Regions from separate parts of the Homo sapiens genome. Here region 1 is linked to region 2. The links are contacts of gene promoters, found by promoter capture Hi-C in blood cells and fetal thymus (Javierre and others, 2016). All regions are on one chromosome and are shown on one strand. Each heading gives the region's core, a stretch centred on a gene start or on the middle of the fragment in contact. The rest is flanking DNA. Distances are from core to core; before and after follow the strand shown.

The links. Contacts are between HindIII fragments. The CHiCAGO score rates a contact against its expected background, and 5 or more counts as called.
Region 1: a fragment that was not itself captured here is called in contact with the fragment with the promoter of ACY1 in region 2 in 4 of 17 cell types (M2 macrophages, naive CD8 T cells, naive CD4 T cells and 1 more); the score reaches 9.0 in M2 macrophages.

Annotation. Positions count from the first base shown.
Region 1 is chr3:52,339,088-52,344,254 of GRCh38, forward strand. All of the region lies in intron 8 of DNAH1 (dynein axonemal heavy chain 1), which reads left to right. Among named protein-coding and RNA genes, the nearest start is that of DNAH1, 25 kb to the left of the region's middle. RefSeq lists an enhancer at 4,466-4,967. The HindIII fragment of the contact is 5,475 bases long and covers 626-5,167 here.
Region 2 is chr3:51,982,270-51,986,817 of GRCh38, forward strand. ACY1 (aminoacylase 1) reads left to right here and starts at 1,266. Exons shown (of 15, transcript NM_000666.3): 1 at 1,266-1,320; 2 at 1,778-1,889; 3 at 2,938-3,002; 4 at 3,092-3,196; 5 at 3,583-3,677; 6 at 3,986-4,062; 7 at 4,146-4,235; 8 at 4,336-4,392. The coding sequence starts at 1,796. It overlaps ABHD14A-ACY1 (ABHD14A-ACY1 readthrough), which reads left to right. Exons shown (of 17, transcript NM_001316331.2): 4 at 1,778-1,889; 5 at 2,938-3,002; 6 at 3,092-3,196; 7 at 3,583-3,677; 8 at 3,986-4,062; 9 at 4,146-4,235; 10 at 4,336-4,392. RefSeq lists a silencer at 851-1,300. The HindIII fragment of the contact is 7,715 bases long and covers 1-2,250 here.

The DNA.
Region 1 (5,167 bases), core at 2,113-4,612, 360 kb after region 2:
TTTTGTTTTTCTTCATCAAGGATTCCATTATGTATCTATATCTCTATGTATCTATGTATCTTTTTATATATTGCTGCTGCTTTGCGTATCTTTTAATTCAACCAGTTTCCGACCCTTTTTAGTTTTTTCTAATTTTATTTTTTAAAATTTTATTTTCTTTCTTTTACTTCCTTTATTTTCTCTCATTTTTATTCTCTTGGTTATATCCTGCCTTTCTTCAATTTACTTCATTATGCTTTGATTTGACTCTGTTTTCTCTCGGTCACCTTGTAATTTCAGCTTCCTCCCCGTGATACTTTTATTTTCCATTTTTTCCTTGAGCTTAATTAAGTCTCTTTTCTTACCGACATTTGTCCATTTATATGTTTTATTTTTGAATTTCTGATTCAAGGTGGTTTTTCAGATGCCCAAACACTCGTTTAAGGCTATTTAGCTGAAGTATTGTGTTACAGTTTTCTTCTGCTTGGTACTTGTTTATTTTTTTAGGGGTGATGGGAATTTTATCAGTTAAGATGCTCTTGTCTTCTCAAATGTGCAAACAAAGCTAAAAGATGCTCTCTTTTTCTTATAGAAGCAAATGTAGACGGTGTTCACCTATTCATTTCAGGATTTGGAGTGATTTGCAAGCTTTCTAGTTCAAGGGCGCCCTCTTCTGTCAGTATTGCACATTAGTTTTTTTTGTTTGTTTGTTTTTAGAATGTGCTCTGTGTGTGTGTCTGTGTGTGTGTGTGTGTGTGTGTGTGTACACACGTGCTGGGGAGAGGGATGTGGGTCCTCCAAGGTTTTTGTCCTCTTATCTTGCAGAACTCAACATTTCACTTTTGCTTCTTTTCCCTTATCCTCCAGTCTACAAATGACCCCTTTCCTTCTGCCTCCTGTCCCATAAGTCATATGCCTTTCAAAGAACACTGCCTTTGAATTGCATGCCCTTAAGTCCCTTCCTTGTAGTAAGTGCTCTGATTTACCAGGGCTTTTTTTCAGTATTTTTACAGTTAGGGTTACTTTCTCTTTTTTTGAGATACGGTCTCACTTTCACCCAGGCTGGAGTGCCGTGGCATAATCACAGCTAACTGCAGCCTCAAACTCTTGGGCTCAAGTAATCCTCCTGCCTCAGCCTCCCTGGTAGCTGGGACTACAGGCATGTGCCACCACACCCGCTATTTTTTTATTTTTTGTAGAGATGGGGGTCTCACTTTGTTGCCCAGGCTGGTCTCGAATTCCTGGGCTCAATTCATCCACCCACATTGGCCTCCCAAAGTTCTGGGATTATAGGCATTAGCCACTGCGCCCAGCCTGGGTTACTTTCTCTTTCTGGTAGGATTTTATTTATTTATTTATTTATTTATTTATTTATATTTATTTTTTGAGATGAAGTCTTGCTCTGTCACTCAGTCTGGAGAGCAGTGGTGTGATCTCAGCTTACTGCAACCTCTGCCCTCTGTGTTGAAATGATTCTCCTGCCTCAGCCTCCCGAGTAGCTGGGACTACAGGTGGTTACCACCACGCCTAGCTAATTTTTGTATTTTTAGTAGAGACGGGGCTTCACCATGTTGGCCAGGCTGGTCTTGAACTCCTGACCTCAGGTGATCCACCCACCTCGGCCTCCCAAAGTGCTGGGATTACAGGCATGAGCCACTGTGCCCGGCCTCTGGTAGGATTTTAGATCTATCTTAGGGTTACCACTATTTCCCTTTTCTGCAGTTTTTCTTAGACTGCCCTTGTTCTCTGTGAAAACTTGCAGCAAGAGTGTGAGAGACAGCTCACTGGAGATAGATTTTTTTTTTTTAATTTACAGATAATTTGAAGTCTAGGCATTCTGCTGATTCTAGTTGTGCTAAAGGTGTGGGTTTTGGTAGTGTTAGTTTTTTCTTCCTTCCTTCCTTCCTCCCTCCCTTCCTTCCTTCCTTCCTTCCTTCCTAGGATGTGTTGGGAAATTTGAATCGATATAGCCACCTTACCTTGGCTGTCCAGAAGTCTGTTTCTTGAATTTTATTCAATTTATAATGTTTTTGGCTTTAAGTATCAAAGATGCTGGTCTCAGATTGTCTTAGACAGCAGGGAAGTGCATTCCTGTACCTGTAGCAGGAAAACCAATGCAGGACGCCCCAGGGTTGGTGCATCAGGGCCCTGTCTGCAGTGTATGCTGGCTTCATCTTCAGGCGAGATGGCAGCAGCAGTTTCATGACCACAACAAAGGTTGTCTTAGATTGGGTTCCGTAGAAGCAGACCCTGATGTGGGGACTCTTGTGCAAGCGATTTATGAAATCCTCTCAGGAGAAATCTATAAGGAAGTGAAGGAAGCAGGGTATAATAGAAGAAGCAGCTGGTAAAATATGGTTTTAGAAGTCTAGTCTCAGCCTGATCCTGTGGGAAACTCTAGAGCAAGCATGGCACCACCGTATTTGTCCTGGAGGGAGCCAGAACAAGAGGGCTTGACTTTGACTTTTTTTTTTTTTTTTTTTTTTTTGAGACAGGGTCTTGCTCTGTCCCCCAGGCTAGAGTGCAGTGGAGCAATCTTAGCTCACTGCAAAGGGCTTGACTTTTATATATCTGCATCAGTGGTTGATCATAACTGGGACGTGTTCCCACACCTAAACCAACTGCAGTTGGGGCAAGCTCCACCACGACTGGCTTGGACTAGCTGAGATGTACCCCTGTAGCTGGGGCTGTAGTCATCTTCCCCTGAGTCAAGTGAGGAAGGATGGAATTCTGGAACAAAACTGAGGAAGAAGGGAGGGAGTGGATGTCAGGCCAGCAAGCAGCCATGTGTGGAAGTACCCATCTTGTGCCAGACACTGGGTACAGAGGAGTGAACATTTCCAACAAAGAGCCTGCACCCTGGGGACTCTCAGCCTGGCCAGAAAGACAGACAATGAAAAATCTGGGTTTTTAGGGTTCTGATAAGTGCTGTGAAGACCAAGCGAGAGAAGGGAATAGAGATGTCTCAGAAGGGCTTCTTTATATTAGGCGGTCAGGGAAAGCCTTTCTCACAGTGGTGATAACATTTGAGTTGAGGTCTAAAGTAAGGGAAGAAGAGGATTCTGGCAGAAGGAGCAGCAGTGCAGAGGCTGAGGTAGGGACAAGTTTGTGGTACTTGAGGAGCAGGGCAGGGTTACTGTGGTTGGGATGCAGAGAGAGATGTTGGTCTGGGAGGCTGGACCACATGCAGGGGCAGAGACGCGGCCACAGGCCGACAGTCTGTGCAGGCCATGGGTGGTGGTGAGCAGAGGAGTGGCTTGATCGTTTACATGTTTAAAATATATTTTTTCCAACTCAAGTAGAGAATGAGTTGTAAGGGGGCAAGAGTGGAAGCAGGGAGATCAATGAGGAGACTAATGCCATAATCAGGGCCAGAGATCATGATGGTGGCTTGAACCAGAATAGTAGCTGAGCAGCACGGGAGAAAGAGATATATTTGAGGTTTCCTCAGCGGTGGAGCCAATGAGAGCTGCTAATGGACTAAATGCAAGCTCACCCCAGGTCTGGGGATTTCCAATCTCAAAGCCCAGTTTCAGGATCAGGTGCAGGGGTCACCCACCCTCAGGCCCAGTCATGGTGTTGCACATCCAGTAGCAGGAAGAGACCAGGGACCCCTCCGTAGGGCTTTGGTCAGTAGGGTGTGTGCAATGCTGTTCAGAGACAAGGAGGCTAGTGGGGATAGGGGGCAAGCGAGGAACAGGGGATGGAGAGAAATGAAGAGCTTGCCTTCTGACATGCTGGTTCTGACACGTTGTAAGGCATCCAGTGTCAGTGTTGAGTGGGCTGGTGGATAAATGAAGGGAGAGAACTGCAGATAGGTGTGAGGGTTCTGGCTGAATAGAACAGGTGGTGTTCAGAGTCCGAGGCTGGAGGAGCTCACCTGGTGGGAGGTATAGCTGGGGAAGACGAGGGGTCTCAGGACCCCTGGCACAGGCCAACGTTTAGAAGTCAGGGAGGTGAGGAAGATCCAGGGGAAGGGTGTCCCAGAAGCTCCGTGAGGACAGCGGTGCAGCAGAATAGGAGGGAGCCACTGTGCCAAGTCTCTGAGAGTCCAGTGAGATGAGGCAGAGCCTGGAGTGGCCTCAGGGGTAGCGAGGGAAGAGATGAGGATGGGAAGAAGTGAGCACACCAGTTTTTCATAAAGAAACACAAAGAGATAAAGTCAAAGGAGGGAAGGAAGTCAAGGGGCGGCTTCTAATGTGGGACATACCAGAGTGTGTGGGGACCCCTGGGAGGGCGTGGGAGGGAAGGCAAAGAGACTGAGGTGGCTGAGCTTGCTGGGCTTTTCCTGAGAGCAGGGCATGCCTTCTACCCTGGCAGAAGGCAGGGAGATTCCGGGGTGTGAAGATGGGGTCATTTCTGTCCAATGGCTTCTGAGTTCCGGATGAAATTCGAGGGACTTCACCCAGTGAGGGAGGGTGTGTCTGTGAGTTGGCAGAGAAGGTGAGAGAGAGTCTTTTCCAGGTTCCGAGGGAGTGAGTAGATTTCTAGGCCAGGTTGAGGGTGTGTTGAAGGTGAGACCAGTCCCCTGCCTACGAAGTTCTCCAACATCCCGCAGCTCTGGTGCAAGTGTGGGCTGCAGGAAACTGAGATTCCCTTGTGGTGCCATTACCAGGGCTAAAGGGACTATTCAGATGTGGCAGAGGTGGGAGGGAGGGAGAGATCGATGGCAGAGACCAACTCAAGGAACAGAAAGGCCTGTCCGCAAAGGACAGAGATGCCAGCTGGCTCAGATGAGGCCTGAGCAAGCCAGGTGCCGGAACACAGCGGCATAGGCAACGTGTGCTGAGGAGTGAGTGAGCGAGTGAGTGAGTGAGTGAAATGGCCTCCAAGGGGTCTGCCTATGTGAGGACGGGGGAGATGGTGTGCACGCTCACCCCAGGTCTGCTGATTTCCGATCTCGGAGCCCAGTTTCAAAGTGAAGTGCAGGGGTCACCCACCCTCAGGCCCAGTCATGGGCACATCCTGAGTTCTCAGCACCTTCCAGGCGCTGCCATGATTGCCCAGTGAAAGCAAAGGAGCTCAGTGGCAGGCATCTTCCACTGCACCATGGGGCAGCAGGCGGGGGTGCTGCAGGGGAGGTGCAGGCTGTGAGTGGCAGCTCTCTGAGGCTTCCAGGCCCAGGACTTCCTGCACCCCGTCCCACTGCTCTGGGGCCTGCCTTGGCTCCCAGAGACTGGCAACAGAA
Region 2 (4,548 bases), core at 16-2,515:
AAGTCTATTTGCCCGCATGAATAAATAGGTAAATAATTAGCCAGCATTGTTGTGAGTTAAAATCTATTTGCCCGCATGACAGAGTGAGACTCTGTATCAAAAAAATAACTAAATAAAGAATTATCCAGCATTGTTATGAGTTAAAGTCCATTTGCCCCCATGTTATGTGTGAGCAGCCAAGACTTAAACCTCAGGAAAGGTGGGACAGAACCCTTCCCACAGCGTGCCTCCTTGGCCTAGAGATTGAAGTCTTTGTCCCTCACCCTTCCCCAAGCTGACTCAGCCCCTGGAGCAGAGGGCAGACCTGGCTGGGAGTACAAAGGGCAGCTGGGGCACAAGTGGGCAACTGCAGCTGTGGCCTGCAGGGGGCCAGTGGTACACCTGTGCCTGTTTAGCCTCCCCCTCTGGTGGCTGCAGAAGAGCCAGTTTCCTCACACTGTCCATCCAGGGTCACAATTACATCCATTCACAGTGACTTCATCACACCCACCCACCATCTCACACTGTCACATACACAATCATATCCACTGATAGACTGCACACGCAGTGGCACGCTTAAACCGTCACACGTGCTCTTGTCCATGCATTCATTCCCATTCTAGGCACTGTCCGGGCTCGGCACGGCCCCGGGCAGAACCTTGCAGGAAGTGGAGCTCACAGCCTCCTGGAGTTCAGTGTGGGCAGACAGACATTGGCCAATAACTTCAGTACAAGTGGAGCTGAGGCGTCAGGGAGGACCTCCCCGAGGGGCTGAGGCCTGCAGTGGGGAGCCGTTGGAGACTTGCCGAGGAGGGCGAGGGCGCAGGCCCAGGGCTTTGCAGCTCTGCATCTTGAGAGCCTCGGGGCGGCCCCCTTTCCTCCCGCCCTATCCGGGGGCTGAAGGAGGAGGCGCCCTTAGGGGACGGGACCGTCCTGAGCTCCCGGCGCATACCTGGGGGCAGGAGTGGCAGGCGTGTCGTGTGGGGCGGGGCGAGCCTGTCAGAGCAGGGCCAGCCCGGAGCTCGCAACTCGCGGGGCGGCGCTGGCCGCGGCGGCCGCTGCCCGGGGACGGGATCCGGATCTAATCCTCCAGTAATCTCGCTGAGGCCCGAACCAGAGGCGGGCGGGGACATCCGCGCCGACGCGGCCGCTGGCGCCGGGACGGCCCTCACTGACGGTCTTCGGTCTCCGCCCCGACATCCGGCCTCGGCCACGTGGTGGGCGGACCGGGGCGGTCCTGAGCCTGCGACCTCGCAGGCGACCTCGCTGGACCCTAAGTCCAGGCCACAGTCAGGGAAGGGCGCTGAGAGGCGAGCGTGAGCCCAGCGACAGGAGAGTGAGGTGGGGGCCCTGGGGAGGGATAGAGGGACTGGGGCTCCGTGGCTTGAAAGCCGGGCAACTGGGAGGCGTTGGGGTTTTTCTTGTTTGTTTTTTGTTTTTGTTTTTGCCTTTTTTTTTTTTTAGGAGGGCGGGGGGAGTACAAGTCTGGGTTCAAACCTTGCTCAGCTACTCTATGAGCTGTCCTTGAACCTCTCTGAGCCTCTCAGCTTTCTCCTCTGTAAAGTGGGCATTCTGAGCACAAACTTCATGGGGCTCTTTTGGGGATTAAATAAGGAAATGTGCTGGAAGCAGACAGCCCAGCGCCTGAAACAGAATGGGTGCTCCTTAATGGGGGCTCCGAAACACGGTATCCTACCCCTGTGGGAAGTCCGGGAGCCGCCGTGGGGACAGGCTGTGTGCAGGAGCTCACCATTTCCAGGGTCTTGGAGGGGTAGTTAGCCATTCACTTTGCCCCCAGCTCACCACGCGCAGCGCCATGACCAGCAAGGGTCCCGAGGAGGAGCACCCATCGGTGACGCTCTTCCGCCAGTACCTGCGTATCCGCACTGTCCAGCCCAAGCCTGACTATGGTGAGAAGACGGTGGTTCCAGAGCCTGTGACGGGGCCTAAGGGACGGGGACTGTGCTCTAAACCAGCCTCCAACCCCTGTCACCCAGCTGAGCCCCACTCTGCTGTCCCAAATGGCTCCCCAACCCCTCCAGCCATTCCCCAAGTAAATAGACTGAGGCAGCCCCTCCAGGTTAGGGAGGAACCCTTTCCCCAGAGACTCTGCTGCTGACCAAGGTTACTCCTGGCAGCTGGTTAAAGAAAAACTTCACCTCACTCTCCAGGGCAGGAGTGGTGGGGGAAGCCTGAGGCAGCCACAGGGAAAGGAGAGGCCCTCCAGAAGCCCACTGGGGCTGGACAAAGGCCACAGCCCTTAGGGAGTCAAGCTTGGTGGCTAGGGCCTGGGAGGTGGCTCCTGCCTGTTATCCCAGCACTTCAGGAGGTTGAGGCTGGCAGATTGCTTGGGCCCAGGAGTTCAAGACTAGCTTGAGCAACATGGCAAGACTCTGTCTCTACAGAAAAAATACAAAAATTAGTCAGGAATGGTGGCACACCTGTAGTCCCAGCTACTCCAGAGGTTGAGGTGGGAGGATCGCTTGAGCCTGGGAGGTTGAGGCTGCAGTGAGCCGAGATCGCACCACTTCACTCCTGCCTTGGTGACAGAGTGAGACCCTGTCTCAAAAAAAAAAAAAAAAAAAGGAAAAGAAAAAAAAAAAACTTAGTGGCTGGGAATTGTGTACATGGGTCCAAATTCCTCCTCTGTGATTAATCAGCTGAGAGATGGTGGGTGAATCTCTTCATGTCTCTGTGCCATAGTTTCCCATATTTAAGGAAGATAACACCTTCCTCCAACCCTGTGTCCAGACATCCCCCTGGACTTCCAGAAAGGGTCACTGAGTAGCCAAAAATATCTTCTTTCTTGGGGATGGAAATGCAAGCATCTCTGAGGGATATGGAGTGTGTCGGGGAGGCAGCAGCCCATTTCTGGGTATGCTCCACTCTCCGGGCTGCCTGGGCTGGTGGGAAGCTGTGGGTAGGCAGAAGCAGCCCCAAGACACTCTGTGCCTCCAGGAGCTGCTGTGGCTTTCTTTGAGGAGACAGCCCGCCAGCTGGGCCTGGGCTGTCAGAAAGTAGAGGTGAGCCTGGGGCCCTAAGCGGGGAAGGGAGGTGGGCCTGGGCACTTCCTCACCCTGCTCAGACCACCTACCCTCCTGACCATCTCCAGGTGGCACCTGGCTATGTGGTGACCGTGTTGACCTGGCCAGGCACCAACCCTACACTCTCCTCCATCTTGCTCAACTCCCACACGGATGTGGTGCCTGTCTTCAAGGTGTGTAAGGGGCTGGGGAGGTGGGCAGTGCAGGCCTTGGGGACAGACATGATGCAGACCCCAGGATTCAACCTCAAGTTGCTCATGGTCCTGGCCCCAGTCCTGACACTAACTCTCAACATCCTTATGACATTACACCACTCAAGCAGCCTTCATCCAGCAGCAAGTTCTGGGCCAGAGTGGGGTGGGGACTGGGGGGTGGGAAGCAGGAGACAGCAATGGGGGATGGCAATCAGCTGCCTTCTTCAGCCCCCGTCTTTCCTCTCCCACCACTCCACCTGTCACTCCAACCCTATGGTGGGCTCCTAGGGCAGGGCCACTGTTGACCAGAGTGGATTAATGGCTAAATTTGGGGTTTGGGCCCCTCTTCCCATCCCTGCCCCCAGGAACATTGGAGTCACGACCCCTTTGAGGCCTTCAAGGATTCTGAGGGCTACATCTATGCCAGGGGTGCCCAGGACATGAAGTGCGTCAGCATCCAGTGAGTGTCCTCCATTCCTACTCCTCCACAATGTCCCCACTGGTCCAGTGGATTGAAGCAGGACCTGAGGGGGTGATTGGAGAAACTCAAGGCCAAGGAACACCGTGACCTCTTGGACAGGAACTACTGCCATGACCATTGCATGGATAGGGAGATTCAGACCAGAGAGGGGCAGGGACTTTCTGGAGTCCCTATCAGGGTGTGGCAGGGTAAAGTCCAGGACACAGGACTCCAGCCTGCTGGCCCTGCCTGTGGGGCCAGCCTGCGCATCTGGTGGCTCCCCCAGCACCTGGCTTATGCCCCCTCAGGTACCTGGAAGCTGTGAGGAGGCTGAAGGTGGAGGGCCACCGGTTCCCCAGAACCATCCACATGACCTTTGTGCCTGGTAGGAGTGGCTCAGATACCTTTGGGAAAGGGGAGGGTGGGGCGGGGCAGCCTCCTCATCTCACGTCCCTGCTGCTTTTACAGATGAGGAGGTTGGGGGTCACCAAGGCATGGAGCTGTTCGTGCAGCGGCCTGAGTTCCACGCCCTGAGGGCAGGCTTTGCCCTGGATGAGGGTGAGCAGGTTGGCAAGCCAATGAGCAGCCAGGCAGGGAGTAGGAGGCTGCTAGTGGGGACTGAGCTGCTCCACCCTCTGAACCCCCTTTCCCTCCTCAGGCATAGCCAATCCCACTGATGCCTTCACTGTCTTTTATAGTGAGCGGAGTCCCTGGTGTAAGTATGAGCTTGGAGGGAGGGCTCACTCTACAGGCGGGAGGCTAGGCCAGAAAGGGCACGGTCCTATGCAGGGTTGCACAGCAAAGTTGAGGCCTGAGAAGGCCTTGAACCCAGGGCCTCTACCTCCCAGCTCTTTCCTATCTGAGCTTCTCT